2 separate regions of the Homo sapiens genome follow, and region 1 is linked to region 2. The links are contacts of gene promoters, found by promoter capture Hi-C in blood cells and fetal thymus (Javierre and others, 2016). All regions are on one chromosome and are shown on one strand. The core of a region is centred on a gene start or on the middle of the fragment in contact, and the rest is flanking DNA. Distances in the headings are between cores, read along the strand shown. Region 1 overlaps RRP1B (ribosomal RNA processing 1B). Region 2 holds the start of PKNOX1 (PBX/knotted 1 homeobox 1).

Region 1 (6,328 bases), core at 13-2,512, 690 kb after region 2:
TGACATTCGACTCCCGATGACAGGCTCCAACTTTTCTGCATCTTGTCTTAGGCATCATAAAGGAAATGTGAGCTATCACTCTTCCTGAAACATGAGCTGTTCTGCAGCAACATCAATAGATAGCTTTGTCATTTTAAAAATAAATTGGAAATCTTTGTATTGCTTTAAGTAACAGTGTTGCGCTCTTGCTTTAACTGTTCAAGTTGGGTGCTCACAGTCATAAAATGATCACTCTCCATGGCTTTCATCCATAAGAGCTTATTTGTCCCAATTCATTCATTCATTCATATATTTAGCAAACATTTATGGAGTGCCAACTGTGTACTATTATGTACGCTATTCTTGGCACTGGGAATATAGCAGTGAACAAAACAGACCATCCCTGCCTATCTTATCAGTTCTGCAACTTTAAAAATATTGACTAAAATGGGGAGGCATCCCAAAATCAACCCAGTGACAATTTCATTTGTATCATTGCTTTCTTTTTGGCAGCATACAAAATAACAGTACATCTTATGGTTGATGCTATATTAGATTCAGTGTAGATGATGGAGGATATAAGTTTTTTTATAATGATGGGGTTAGGGTTCTCTCTATCCAAGAGTTATAATAAATAGAAGTTGTGGATGTTCTGACACTGGGGTGTGTTCAAGTTTAACACTTTACCCCCATCTAAAATGGCTTCTGGGCTCATTGCGTGGTGAGAGTGGCTGTTGGATTTGCTCATTTCAAAACTTACTAATATTTCACATGTCTACATGTCTCACTTTGATGTTTACCTCGTTTGTTTTGTGTGTTTTTGTTTTTTGAGACAGAGTTTCACTCTTTCACCCAGGCTGAAGTGCAACAGCGCGATCTCTGCTAACTGCAACCTCCACCTTCCAGTTTCAAGCAATTCTCCCGCCTCACCCTCCCGAGTAGCGAGCGCCCACCACCACGCCTGGCTAATTTTTGTGTTTTTAGTAGAGACGGTGTTTCACCATGTTGGCCAGGCTGGTCTTGAGCTCCTGACCTCATGATCCGCCCGCCTAGGCCTCTCAAAGTGCTGGGATTACAGGTGTGAGCCACACCGTGCCCAGCCTTTGTTTTTGTTTTTTTGAGAGACAGAGACTTGCTCTGTCGCCCAGGCTGGAGTGCAGTGGCACAATCTCGGCTCACTGCAACCTCCACCTCCCAGGTTCAAGCGATTATCCTGCCTCAGCTTCCCAAGTAGCTGGGACTACAGGCATGCACCACCATGCCCAGCTAATTTTTGTATTTTTTTAGTAGAGACAGGGTTTCACTCTATGATGGCCAGGCTGGTCTTGAACTCCTGACCTCAGGTGATCTGCCCACCTCGGTCTCCCAAAGTGCTGGGATTACAGAAGTGAGCCACTGTACCTGGCCTACCTCATTCATTTTGAAATAAATAAACCTATATTGTATTGTTGTAAAAACAGTAGTATTAAGTTTAAGAAATTTAGCCCCAAGAAGAAAATAGAGAAGACAAGACTGATGAAACCAAACTGCTTCAGATAATGTACTTTGCCTTTCAGAGCTTTGAAAGTAATTCAGTAATGAGCATTTCTCTCTTTTACTTTGAATACTTCAAAAATTGGTGGCTTGTTTTTATTAGATTCCTAGGTGAACACACACACACAGACATAAATGGAAAATAGATGTTTTAAAAGGGAACAAAATGGGCCGGGCGCAGTGGCTCACGCCTGTAATCCCAACACTTTGGGAAGCCGAGGCGGGTGGATCACCTGAGGTTGGGAGGCTGAGGGAGGAAAATCACCTGAACCCGGGAGGCAGTGAACCAAGATCGCACCATTGCACTGCAGCCTGGGCAACAAGAGTAAAACTCCGTCTCAAAAAAAAAAAAAAAAAGAAAAAGAAAAAAGGGAACAAAATGTAAAATGTATTCCTAGGAATAGAAAGTGAGACAATTATTATTGTAATCTCTCACCAACTCAATAGTGCTTTGTTCTTACAGTGTTTCACACGTCTTGGGCTTGACCCTAACAATAAATCTTTCATATAGTATAGGTGATAGAACTGAGGCCCAAAAGTCAGTTGACAGTTTTCTGATACTGGGCCCCTGTCAGCAGGAAGCTGGGGCCTGAGCCAAGGTTTGTTTCCGTGCTACTCTGTTGCCTCCTAGAAAAGAGACAATCAGAGTATCTTTTCTCATTGTATTAGCCTGTTCTCACGCTGCTAATAAAGACACTCCGGAGACTGGGTAATTTATAAAGGAAATAGGTTTAATGGACTCACAGTTCCACATGGCTGGGGAGGCCTCACAATCATGGCAGACAGCAAAGGAGAAACAAAGCAAAGGCAGGTCATCCATGGCGGCAGGCAAGCGGGTATGTGCAGGAGAGCTCCCCTTTATAAAACCGTTAGATCTCATGAGACTTATTCAGTCTCACGAGAACAGCATGAGAAAAACCCGTCCCCGTGATTCAGTTACCTCCCACTGGGTCCCTCCCACCACGTGGGGATTATTACAATTCAAGGTGAGATTTGGGTGGGGACACAGCCAACCCATATTACTCACCCAGCCCACTTTGCTGCCCACTGTCCAGGGTCTGTTGTCACTCCGTCAGAATCTACTGTTTTCCATTATGAACGCCTCTGTAGCACATCATACTGTGCCTTTGCCTGTTACAGGTGTGGGCTATCCATAGCAGATGCTAGGCAGACCACATTATCACTTACTGTTGGCTTGACCCAATGGTATACTTACAAAACCATCTGGAAATAAATATGCTGTTTTTAAGTGAGAAAGACCAGAATACAGAATATTATGCCATTTAGGTCACACACACAACTGTGCTTTTCTGCACTACCTGTAACTGTTCTGTAAATAAATGCCCAGGAAAGATCTGGAAAGATACACATCAGACAGGTTGCATCAGTCCCTCTGGTTCAGAGCCTGGGATTCAGGAGGCAGGGAGCAAGACAAGCTTGTGATTATATCACTTTGATGGTGGTAAGGTTCTTTGCAATAAACGTGTTTTTATTAGTTAGGACTCTTTCAGTTGCAACTTGACAGAACATCTACGCCATGCTAGTTTTATTTTATTTTATTTATTTGTTTATTTTTTGAGATGGAGTCTTGCTCTGTCGCTCAGGCTGGAGTGCAGTGGTGCGATCTTGGCTCACTGAAACCTCCGCCTCCTGGGTTCCAGCGGAACCCTTGGTGCCATTCTCAGGATTAAATGAGCGCGCACTCCTAGTTCCTGTGGGATCTGACTGTTAAAGAGCCTGGCACCTTCCTCCTCCCTTGCTATGTGACATGACAACTCCCCTTCCCCTCCAGCCAAGATGGGACACTCCCTGAGGTCCTCACCAGAAGCAGATGCTGGAGCCATGCTTGTACAGCCTGCAGAGCCTCGAGCCAAATAAACCTCTTAGCGTCAGGTGTTCCTTTATAGCAGCGCAACAGACTAAGACAGTGATGCAACTGGAAGTGCAGGAGCATTAACCAGCTTAAACCCAAAGAGAGGATTTGAAGGACCCAGGTTACTGCATGGGGTCAGGCTCAGGGCACTCCTTGTCCTTGCTGGGCAGCTACATTGGGATTTCCCTCCAAGGCTCTCCACCTTCAAGCAGGGTGTGGAGGGACTCTGTGGTCTGGGTGGGGCTTACCCCACGTGGAGAGGCGGCGGCTTCTGCCAATTCAGCAGAATTCCCTTGGCCACAGGACAGGTTCAAGAAAAGCCAAGTGACCCTCTGCAGGTAAAAATCTTCTTGCTCAGTCCTTAGGAGTTTCTAGCTCTCTCCTTACTGGACTTGAAGAGAACACACAGTTTGTACCTGCTCCCAGCCACCTTGTAACACAGGTGGAGCCTGTCTGAGAATGGAGACAATCTTTGGGGCAGCAGAGGTTGCAGTGGAGAAAAACAAGGTGCTGGCACCAGCAGTTGAGCTCCTGCACAAAGTTGTGCTTCACTTTCCCCCTTAAAACTAGCATGGCTGCCAGGCCTGGTGGCTCACGCCTGTAATCCCAGCACTATGGGAGGCCAAGGTGGGGGGATCATGTGGTCAAGAGACTGAGACCATCCTGGCCAACATGGCGAAACCCCGTCTCTATTAAAAACTACAAAACTTAGCTGGGTGCGGTGGCAGGTGCGTGTAATCCCAGCTACGTGGGAGGCTGAGGCAGGAGAATCGCTTGAACCTGGGCAGCAGAGGTTGCAGTGAGCCGAGATTGCACCACTGCACTCCAGCCTGGGCGACAGAGTGAAACTGTCTCCAAAAAAAAAAAAAAAAAATCCTTAATAGCATGAAATATCCAATCTGTTTAGTTTTTCTCATCAAATGTTTTTTATGAGCAATCCAAATGAGGACCACCCACTGCATTTGGTTAATATGTCTGCCAAGACGCTCTTAAAATCTAACAGTTCTTACCCATCTTTTTCTGTACAGTTTATTTGTTGGGGACATAGGTCATATGCCTTGTAGAGTTTCACATATTTGGGGTTTGTTGACTGCATCCTGTTGTCTCACTTACCATGTTCCTCTGTCCCCTGTATTTCCTATAAACTAATATTAATAGTTAAGATTTGACACAGTTGGGTGTTTTTTTTTTTGACACTTACTTTTGTAAGAATACTTCATAGGTTGGTGCAGCGTTCTTCCTGTTGGCATCACCTCTGGCATCTGATGCGTGATTATTGCCTGTGCATGTTAATGATCGGTCGGTGGGTTTGGGTGTTGATGGTCTGACACATCCACTTTCAAGTTTCTTAATATCGTTTGTTTGTTTGTTTGTTTGTTTGTTTGAGAGACAGAGTTGCTCTGTTGCCCAGGTTGGAGTGCAGTGGCACGATTATAGCTTACTGCAGCCTCAAATTCCTGGGCTCAGGTCATCCTCCCACTTCAGCCACCTGAGTACTTGGGACTACAGGCACATGCCACCATGCTCTGCCAATTTTTTGGTTTTGTTGTTGGTGTGTGTGTGTGTGTGTTTAAGACAGGGTCTTGCTCTGTCGCCCAAGCTCCATGGAGTACAATGTTGTAGAGATTGGGTTTTGCTGTGTTGCCCAGGCTGGTCTCAAACTCCTGAGCTCAAGTGAGCCGCCACGCCTGGGTGATATCTTTTCATCTAATGTTTTAGCAGCTATTTATGATCCTTGCCCAAAGCCTTCAATTCACTGGGGATATATGTGGTCTTTGAACATGATTAAATATAAGTGCAGGTCACTGTGGCCAAGAAAAAAAAAGTTACTGCAATCATGACCGCAGTTGGCTCAGCTCTAGTGGGGTTTATTACTCATACCATACTTACATTATCCACGTGAGGATCCCCAGGCATGACTTGTTCATAACAAGAGGGCAAGAGAACCAGTTGGTACATCTTCTCTCCAACTGTGAAAGGGAATATACTTTAATAAACTAGTTTTATGTTAGTTCCTGATATCCTGGTTTTACATGGAAAACTATCATAAAAGAATCAAAATGCAGGCCGGGTGTGGTGGCTCATGCCAGTATTCCCAGCACTTTGGGAGGCCGAGGCCAGCAGATCACCTGAGGTCAGGAGTTCCGGACCAGCCTGGCCAACATGGTGAAACCTTGTCTCCACTAAAAATACAAAAAATTAGCCAGGCGTGGTGGCACGCGCCTATAATCCCAGCTACTCTTGAGGCTGAGGCAGGAGAATCGCTTGAACCCAGGAGGCAGAGGTTGCAGTGAGCCTAGATTGTGCCACTGCACTCCAGCCTGGGCAACAGAGCAAGACTCTATCTCAAAAAAAAAAAAAAGAATCAAAATGTACCATTATAAAATTGTTGATGGGAGAAAGACCCTTAGCAAAGTGGAAATCAATACCTGTAAATTAAGGTTAACGCACTCTGAATACACTAAACAAACTTTGGTCCATTAAAAGGTCTTTTTGTCACTTTTTTTTTTTTTTTTAAGAGACGGACTCTCGCTCTGTCGCCCAGGCTGGAGTGCAGTGGCGCAATCTCAGCTCACTGCAAAGTGCAAACTCCACCTCCTGGGTTCACACCATTCTACTGCCTCAGCCTCTGGAGTAGCTGGGACTATAGGCGCCCGCCACCATACCCGGCTAATTTTTTTTGTATTTTTAGTAGAGACGGGGTTTCACTGTGTTAGTGAGGATGGTCTTGATCGTCTGACCCCGTGATCCGCCCACCTCAGCCTCCCAAAGTGCTGAGATTACAGGCATGAGCCACCGCGTCTGGCCCTTTTTGTCACTTTTTAAGCATCTTTTGGAGTATTAAGATCACATTGATTCTAAATATTTGTTTGCATTCATCTAGTTTATAGCACTTTGTTGCTCCAAAAGATTTCTCCTAGGATCTCCTAGTAAAATCCTAAT
Region 2 (6,384 bases), core at 3,269-5,768:
GATTACAGGCGCCTGCCACCATGCCCATCTAATTTTTTTGTATTTTTAGTAGAGAAGGGGTTTCACCATGTTGGTCAGGCTGGTCTCAAACTGCTAACCTCGTGATTCACCCGCTTCGGCCTTCCAAAGTGCTGGGATTACAGGCGTGAGCCACTGATCCTGGCAATTTTTGTATTTTTAGTAGAATCGGGGTTTCACCATGTTGCCCAGGCCAAGAGTTTGAGACCAGCCTGGTCAGCAAGGTGAAATCCCGCCTCTACTAAAAATACAAAAATTAGCTGGGCATGGTGGCGGGCACCTGTAATCTGAGCTACTTGGGAGGCTGAGGTAGAAGAATTGCTTGAACCCAGCAGGCAGAGGCTGCAGTGAGCCAAGATCATGCTAGTGCACTTCAGCCTGGGTGATATAGCAAGACTCCATCTCAAAAAAAAAAAAATTAACAAATATTATAGAAAACATGTTGTAAAGAAAATAGAATGGCTGCTTATTTGAATTAAAATGTACCTGTTTTTTTTTCTTTCTTTTTTTTTTTGAGACGGAGTCTTGCTCTTTCGCCCAGGCTGGAGTGCAGTGGCGCGATCTCTGCTCACTGCAAGCTCTGCCTCCTGGGTTCACGCCATTCTCCTGCCTCAGCCTCCCGAGTAGCTGGGACTACAGGCGTCTGCCACCACGCCCGGCTAATTTTTTGTATTTTTAGTAGAGAGGGGGTTTCACCCTGTTAGCCAGGATGGTCTCGATCTCCTGACCTCGTGATCCGCCCACCTCGGCCTCCCAAAGTGCTGGGATTACAGGCGTGAGCCACTGAGCCCGGTCTGTTTTTTTTTCTTTAGAAACCACTTCGGTGCTCAACACCGGGAAGAGGGCCCCCATGGCCACACAGGTGTGGTTGGAGGCAAAGGTGGATTCACAGGGAAGCAAATGAGTCTTCACCCCCTCTAAAGCCCCATACCTACCTCACTTTGAATTATTTTCCTAAAGACTCCTCACAGTATGCAAGTTTCAGGGCCCAGCAAACTTTGCCCATCCCTGGAGGAGGAGACTACTGATAGTGCATCTGTCAGGGGCATTTGAACCAAAGCGACTCCATCTTGAATAGCGACTGGGTAAAATAAGACTGAGACCTATTGGGCTGCGTTTCCAGGAGGTTAAGGCATTCTTAGTCACAGGGAGAGATAGGAGGACACAAGACACAGGTCACAAAGACCTTGCTGATAAAACAGGTAAAGAAGCCGGCCAAATCCCACCAAAACCAAGATGAGGATGAAAGTGACTGCTGGTCGTCCTCACTGCTCATTATATGCTAATTATAATACATTAGCATGCTAAAAGACACTCCCACCACTGTCAGGACAGTTTACAAATGCCATGGCAATGGCAGGAGGTTACCCTATATGGCCTAAAAAGGGGAGGAACCCTCAGTTCCCACCCCTGTTCAGGAAACCTCATGAATAACCCACCCTGTGTTTAGCATATAATCAAGAGCTAACAATATATGTATAAGCTGCCGGGGGAGGAAGGCAGGGCAGGAAAGAAAAACAAGCAAGCAAACAAACAAAAAGTATAAGCAACTGAGCAGCCACGCCACTGGTGGGCCTATGGAGTAGCTGTTCTTTTATTCCTTTGCTTTCTTAATAAACTTGCTTTCAGTTTATGGACTTGCCCTGAGTTCTTTCTTGCTCAAGATCCAAGAATCCCCTCTTGGGGTCTGGATCAAGACCCCCTTTCTGGCAACACATCCCGGCCTTTCCCCCTTTTCTGAAGACAGACTTCAGAAATGAAGAAAAAGAAGGGTGGCCGCTCATGGTGGGTGAAACGGCAAAGCAGCTGGCAGAGAAGGCACCTAGCTGATGACCCCAGAGTCTTCTGGGCCCAGAGTGGGATGGCAGGGCCTGGGCTTCTGTCTGCCCTGGACTTGCTGCAGCTGCTTCCTGGGCTCTGGGTGACCATGCGCTCAGGTCCTCCTGTGGAACTCCTGCTGTCTCACAGGCCAGATGCAAATAAATGAAAGCTTCAGACCGGGGGCAGGTGTAGGTGTGGCCAGTGAGCCCCGGGCTGCTTCCAGGGGCCTGAACAGCATGTCACAGGGCCCCTGCCCCTGCTGAGAAGGGCCCAGGCTTGGGGTAAGGTTCTGCTGTCACTGCCTTGAAATTCTTCACTGTAATTTCTGAGCCAGGGACTTTGTCTTACTGGAATGGGGTCTCAATCCAGATCCCAAGAGAGGGTTCTTGGAGTTTACACAAGAAAGAATTCAGGGAGAATCCACAGAGTAAAGTGAAAGTGAGTTTGTTAGAGAAGTAAATAAACCAAAGAATGGCTACTCCATAGGCAGAGCAGCCCCAAGGGCTGCTGGTTGGCTATTTTTATGGTCCTTTTTTTTTTCCCTAGAATCCGTTCCTGAATTATATTGGTTATTTCTTGATCACGTGCTAAACAAGGGGTGGATTATTCATGAGTTTTCTGGGAAAGTGGTGGGGAATTCCCAGAACTTAGGCTTCCTCTTCCATTTATTTATTTATTTATTGGAGATGGAGTCTTGCTCGTTGCCCAGGCTGGAGTGCAATGGCGTGATCTCGGCTCACTGCAACCTTTGCTTCCCAGGTTCAAGCGATTCTCCTGCCTCAGCCTCCCAAGTAGCTGGGACTACAGGTGTATGCCACCACGCCTGCTTAATTTTTTGGTATTTTTAGTAGAGATGGGGTTTCACCATATTGGCCATGCTGGTCTCAACTCCTGACCTCAAGTAATCTGCCCGCCTTGGCCTCCCCAAAGTGCTGGGATTACTGGCGTGAGCCACTGCGCCCGACCCCTTTTAGGCAATGTAGGGTATCTTCCAAACGTTGCCATGGCATTTGAAAACTGTCATGGCGCTGGCGAGAGTGTGTTTTACCAAGCTCATATATTATAATTAGTGTATAATCAGCAGTGAGGAAGGCCACAGGTCACTTTCCCCGCCATCTTGGTTTTGGTGGGATTTGGCCGGCTTCTTTACTGCATCCTGTTTTATCAGCAGGATCCTTGTGACCTGTGTCTTGTTCCGACCTCCTATCTCATCCGATTACTAAGAACGCCTTAACTCCTGGGGGGTGCGGCCCAGCAGGTCTCAGCTTCAGTTTACCCAGCCCATGTGGAGTCTCTCTGTTCCAACACCTATTGACACTTGCATCTGGATCTTGCACTAGGCTCTGCAGATTATGCTCAGTCTTGAATACTGAGCTTTTTTTGTCCCCTTGAACTTCCCTCCTTGGGCAAGTATCTCAGGGCCTCCCTCTTGCCCACCCTGCTGCTTCCCATCTTTCTGAAAGAGGCGGCTCTGCAGCTGCACAGCACTTGGCCAAGACCTCCTGGCGGTGTGGAGCTCTGAAGACACAGGAGGGATGTCCTCCGAGCTGTTCATGCCTAGACCTACCCCCAGGCTCCCTCTAGCAATCAGCTCCAGTCCTGGGCCTGTCTGCCTTCCGGGAGGAGTGGGGGCCCACAGAGCTGCCCTTCCCGCGCTGTGTATGGACTCAAGGCACTGATGGCCTTCGGTGGGCCACTGCATAAATGGATGTTTCTGCAGTATTGAAGGCCAGTCAGGCAAACCGTGTGCTTTCCTACGCAGTGGGGAATGTGTCGCCCTTTCCTTACATCTTGGAGACCAAAGCCACCATCTGCACTTGTGGGTACATTGTGGCAGTGGTCGGTTAGGGTGGTCTTTCAAAGCAGTTTGAAATGCAGACACTTGTGGGCGTCCCCTAAGGCAGGTGCCCTTTACCTGGAGGCCGCATTGGTCACCTAGACCCGCAAGGCTCACCTGGGCCGGAAGGTGTGGTCAAGCGAGGCCAAGTAGCCCAGAGGCCACCCCTAAGCACCTGTGGACATCATGAGTCCTTGCTGGGGTCCTCACAGAGGGAAGACAGCCCCCAGGGTAAAGCCTCAGGTGCTAAGCACTCGCGCTGCCGCAGGGGGGGAGGCACGTGAGCATCCACTGTGCCGCCCAGGACGGGCCCACCCGGGCTCCAGAGCCTGGGGAGGAAGGCTGCGAGGCTCCCACGGGCTTACATTCAAACCGGGCACACACAGAACGGAGGCCTTCGGCTACGGGACGCCCGGCGGTGGGGTTACGGATGGTACAGCCCTCCCTCCCCGCCTGCTCGAGGCAAATGGTTTCGCCCGGCTACACACACCTCTCCTGGGCGGCAACCGAGGGCGCGGAGGGGGCAAGACGTGCGCTGAGGCCACGCCCCTACTGCATAGTCATAAGGCGGGAGGCTCTGCCTTCGGGGCGGGGCAGACAGCTCCTCGCGCTCGGGCGCGGCCGGTTGGGGGCACGGCCTAGCTCCGGGTGCGGGCGGGGCTGGAGGCGGGGCCGGCCACCGCCCGGTTCCCGCCCTCGCTCTCCTCCCCCAGCGATCAGGCCCCGCCCCGCGCCCGCCGCCGCGCAGGGAGGGGCGGGGCCCGTCTCCGGCAGGCCCCGCCCCCTCTCTGAATATTGATGCGGCGCGCGTCGGCGTCGCCCTCCTCCCATTGAGCGAGGCTGTGTCGCGTGGCCCAGCGTCGGCGTGACGGTTGGACGCGGGCGCGGCACTGCGGGTCCCGATTGCTGCAGCCGCTTGTCAGTGTGATGAAGATTGGCACCCAGGTAAGCTGTCACTCAACCGCTCCGCCGCCGCCGCCGCCGCTCTCGCCGCCGCCGTCCCTATCAATCACACCGGCCCGCGGCCGCCGCCCGCCGCCGCCGCTGCCGCCCGGGTCTGGAGGGCCGGCGCTGCCCTCGAGGGCCCGCATTTGACCCGCCGCCCGGGGCAGGGGGCGGGGAGGGGGCGCGGGTGGGGGAGGGGAGCGGGCACCCGCGGGGGAGGGGGCGCCTTCAGCCCAACCGGCGCGGGGGCGCGCCCAGTTGGTTTCTTAGTGTGGGTTGAGGGACGCGGAAATTTCTGGAAGGCGCCGCCGCCGCCGCGCTGGGCCTGATCGAAGCGCGCGCTCCTAACCGTCCCTTTCGGAGTGCGGCGCGCGCCCCGGCGCGGGGCGGGGGCGCGCGGAGCCCGGCGCGGGCGGGGCGGCGGGCGTGAGGGTCGGGGGCGCGCGGCGGGGCGGGGCCGGGGCGGGCGGCGCGCGTGGGGCCGGTCGGGTCCGCGGCCTCGCGGAGTCCTCAGGGCCGGCGGGGCTGCTCGGAGGGTGCGGGGCGCGCGGCGGCGCAGGCGGGAAGATGGCGGCCGCGACCCCGGCCCCGGCCTCGGCCGTGGCGAGCGGGTGGGTCGGGGTCCTGGGGGCGGTGGGCGTGATGGGGCTCGTGGCCCTCAGCCGGGCGCCGGCGCGGGAGCAGCCCAGGGCCGCTCGCTGACGGCAGTGTTTGGGGCCGGGTGCTGGGGAAGCGGTTCCGGCGTCCCGGGAATTGGTGGGAAGAGCCGCTTCTGTCACACGGGTCGTGGTAATGGATGACAGGAAGTGCCGGGCAGGGTCTGGGCGCCCTGTGGGTTTGCACCTTCCTTGTGAGGGAAATCGTGTCACTTAACGAAAAATGAAGAAACGCGGAGTCTGCTTTATGTCATCCTCGTGGCTCTCGAAATGCCTTATTTGGACAGTGGCTCTGCGACGGGACCAGTTAGGGCCTCCGTTCCGATGGCGGATTCCTGACGGGAGGCCCGAGGGTCCGGGAATGGCGGCGTCCTGAGGTCGGGCCCAGGGCAGGCCAGGCTGAGCGCCACGGCGGGGCCGCAGCCCTGGGGGGTGTTCCACCTGTGTGTGGGGTTCTCTTCCAACTCTACGAGAGTTTGCTTTTTAAAACAGTAGATGATTTTTCCTTAGGAAGTGGTTCCTCTTCAGGATGAAAGAAACCCCCAGCTTTAGTTAGGTCTACTTTCATGATTTTTCCTGGCATACTGAAAAATAGGCTTTCTCTAAACATAAGGAAGAATCGAGGTGAAATGTGAACCTCTGCCAGTATAGTTATTGGTGATGCTCTTGCATTTAGTCATAATTTGGAAGATGGCAGGCTGACCCCAATGAGCCTTTCATCACTCTGCTTAATTTACTTAGAGTGATTTGTGAATCCTGTCCTTGTACACAGGCGTACCTCAGATAATTCGAGTTCTAATCCAGACCACCGCAGTAAAATAAGTATTGCAGTAAAGCAAGTGACGCAACAGTTTTAGGTTTTTCAGTGCATATGAAAGTTGTAATTACAGTATACTACTTAAAGTGTGCAATAGCAAGCATTATATCTATAAAAATGTGCTTACGTTAATTAAAAAATATTTTAGTGCTAAAAATACTAATGATCATCTGAGCCTTTAGTGAGTCCTGCTTGTTTTATACTTTGACAATCTGGCCTCAGTGTGGATGGCTGCTGACTGATCAGGGTGGTGGTGGCTGTGTCAGTTACTTAAAATAAGACAACAGTGA

The links. The method cuts DNA at HindIII sites, captures the fragments that hold promoters and counts their contacts. A CHiCAGO score of 5 or more calls a contact.
Region 1: a contact is called between a fragment that was not itself captured here and the fragment with the promoter of PKNOX1 in region 2, in 1 of 17 cell types (naive CD8 T cells). The highest score is 5.0, in naive CD8 T cells.

What each region holds. Positions count from the first base shown.
Region 1 is chr21:43,662,476-43,668,803 of GRCh38, forward strand. The region is part of intron 1 of RRP1B (ribosomal RNA processing 1B); the gene reads left to right. Among named protein-coding and RNA genes, the nearest start is that of RRP1B, 6.1 kb to the left of the region's middle. RefSeq lists an enhancer at 827-886. The HindIII fragment of the contact is 3,367 bases long and covers 1-2,946 here.
Region 2 is chr21:42,970,044-42,976,427 of GRCh38, forward strand. PKNOX1 (PBX/knotted 1 homeobox 1) reads left to right here and starts at 4,519. Exons shown (of 11, transcript NM_004571.5): 1 at 4,519-4,621. RefSeq lists enhancers at 1,436-2,195, 5,318-6,044 and silencers at 3,707-3,866, 4,177-4,566, 4,697-5,016, 5,157-5,356. The HindIII fragment of the contact is 12,758 bases long and covers 2,007-6,384 here.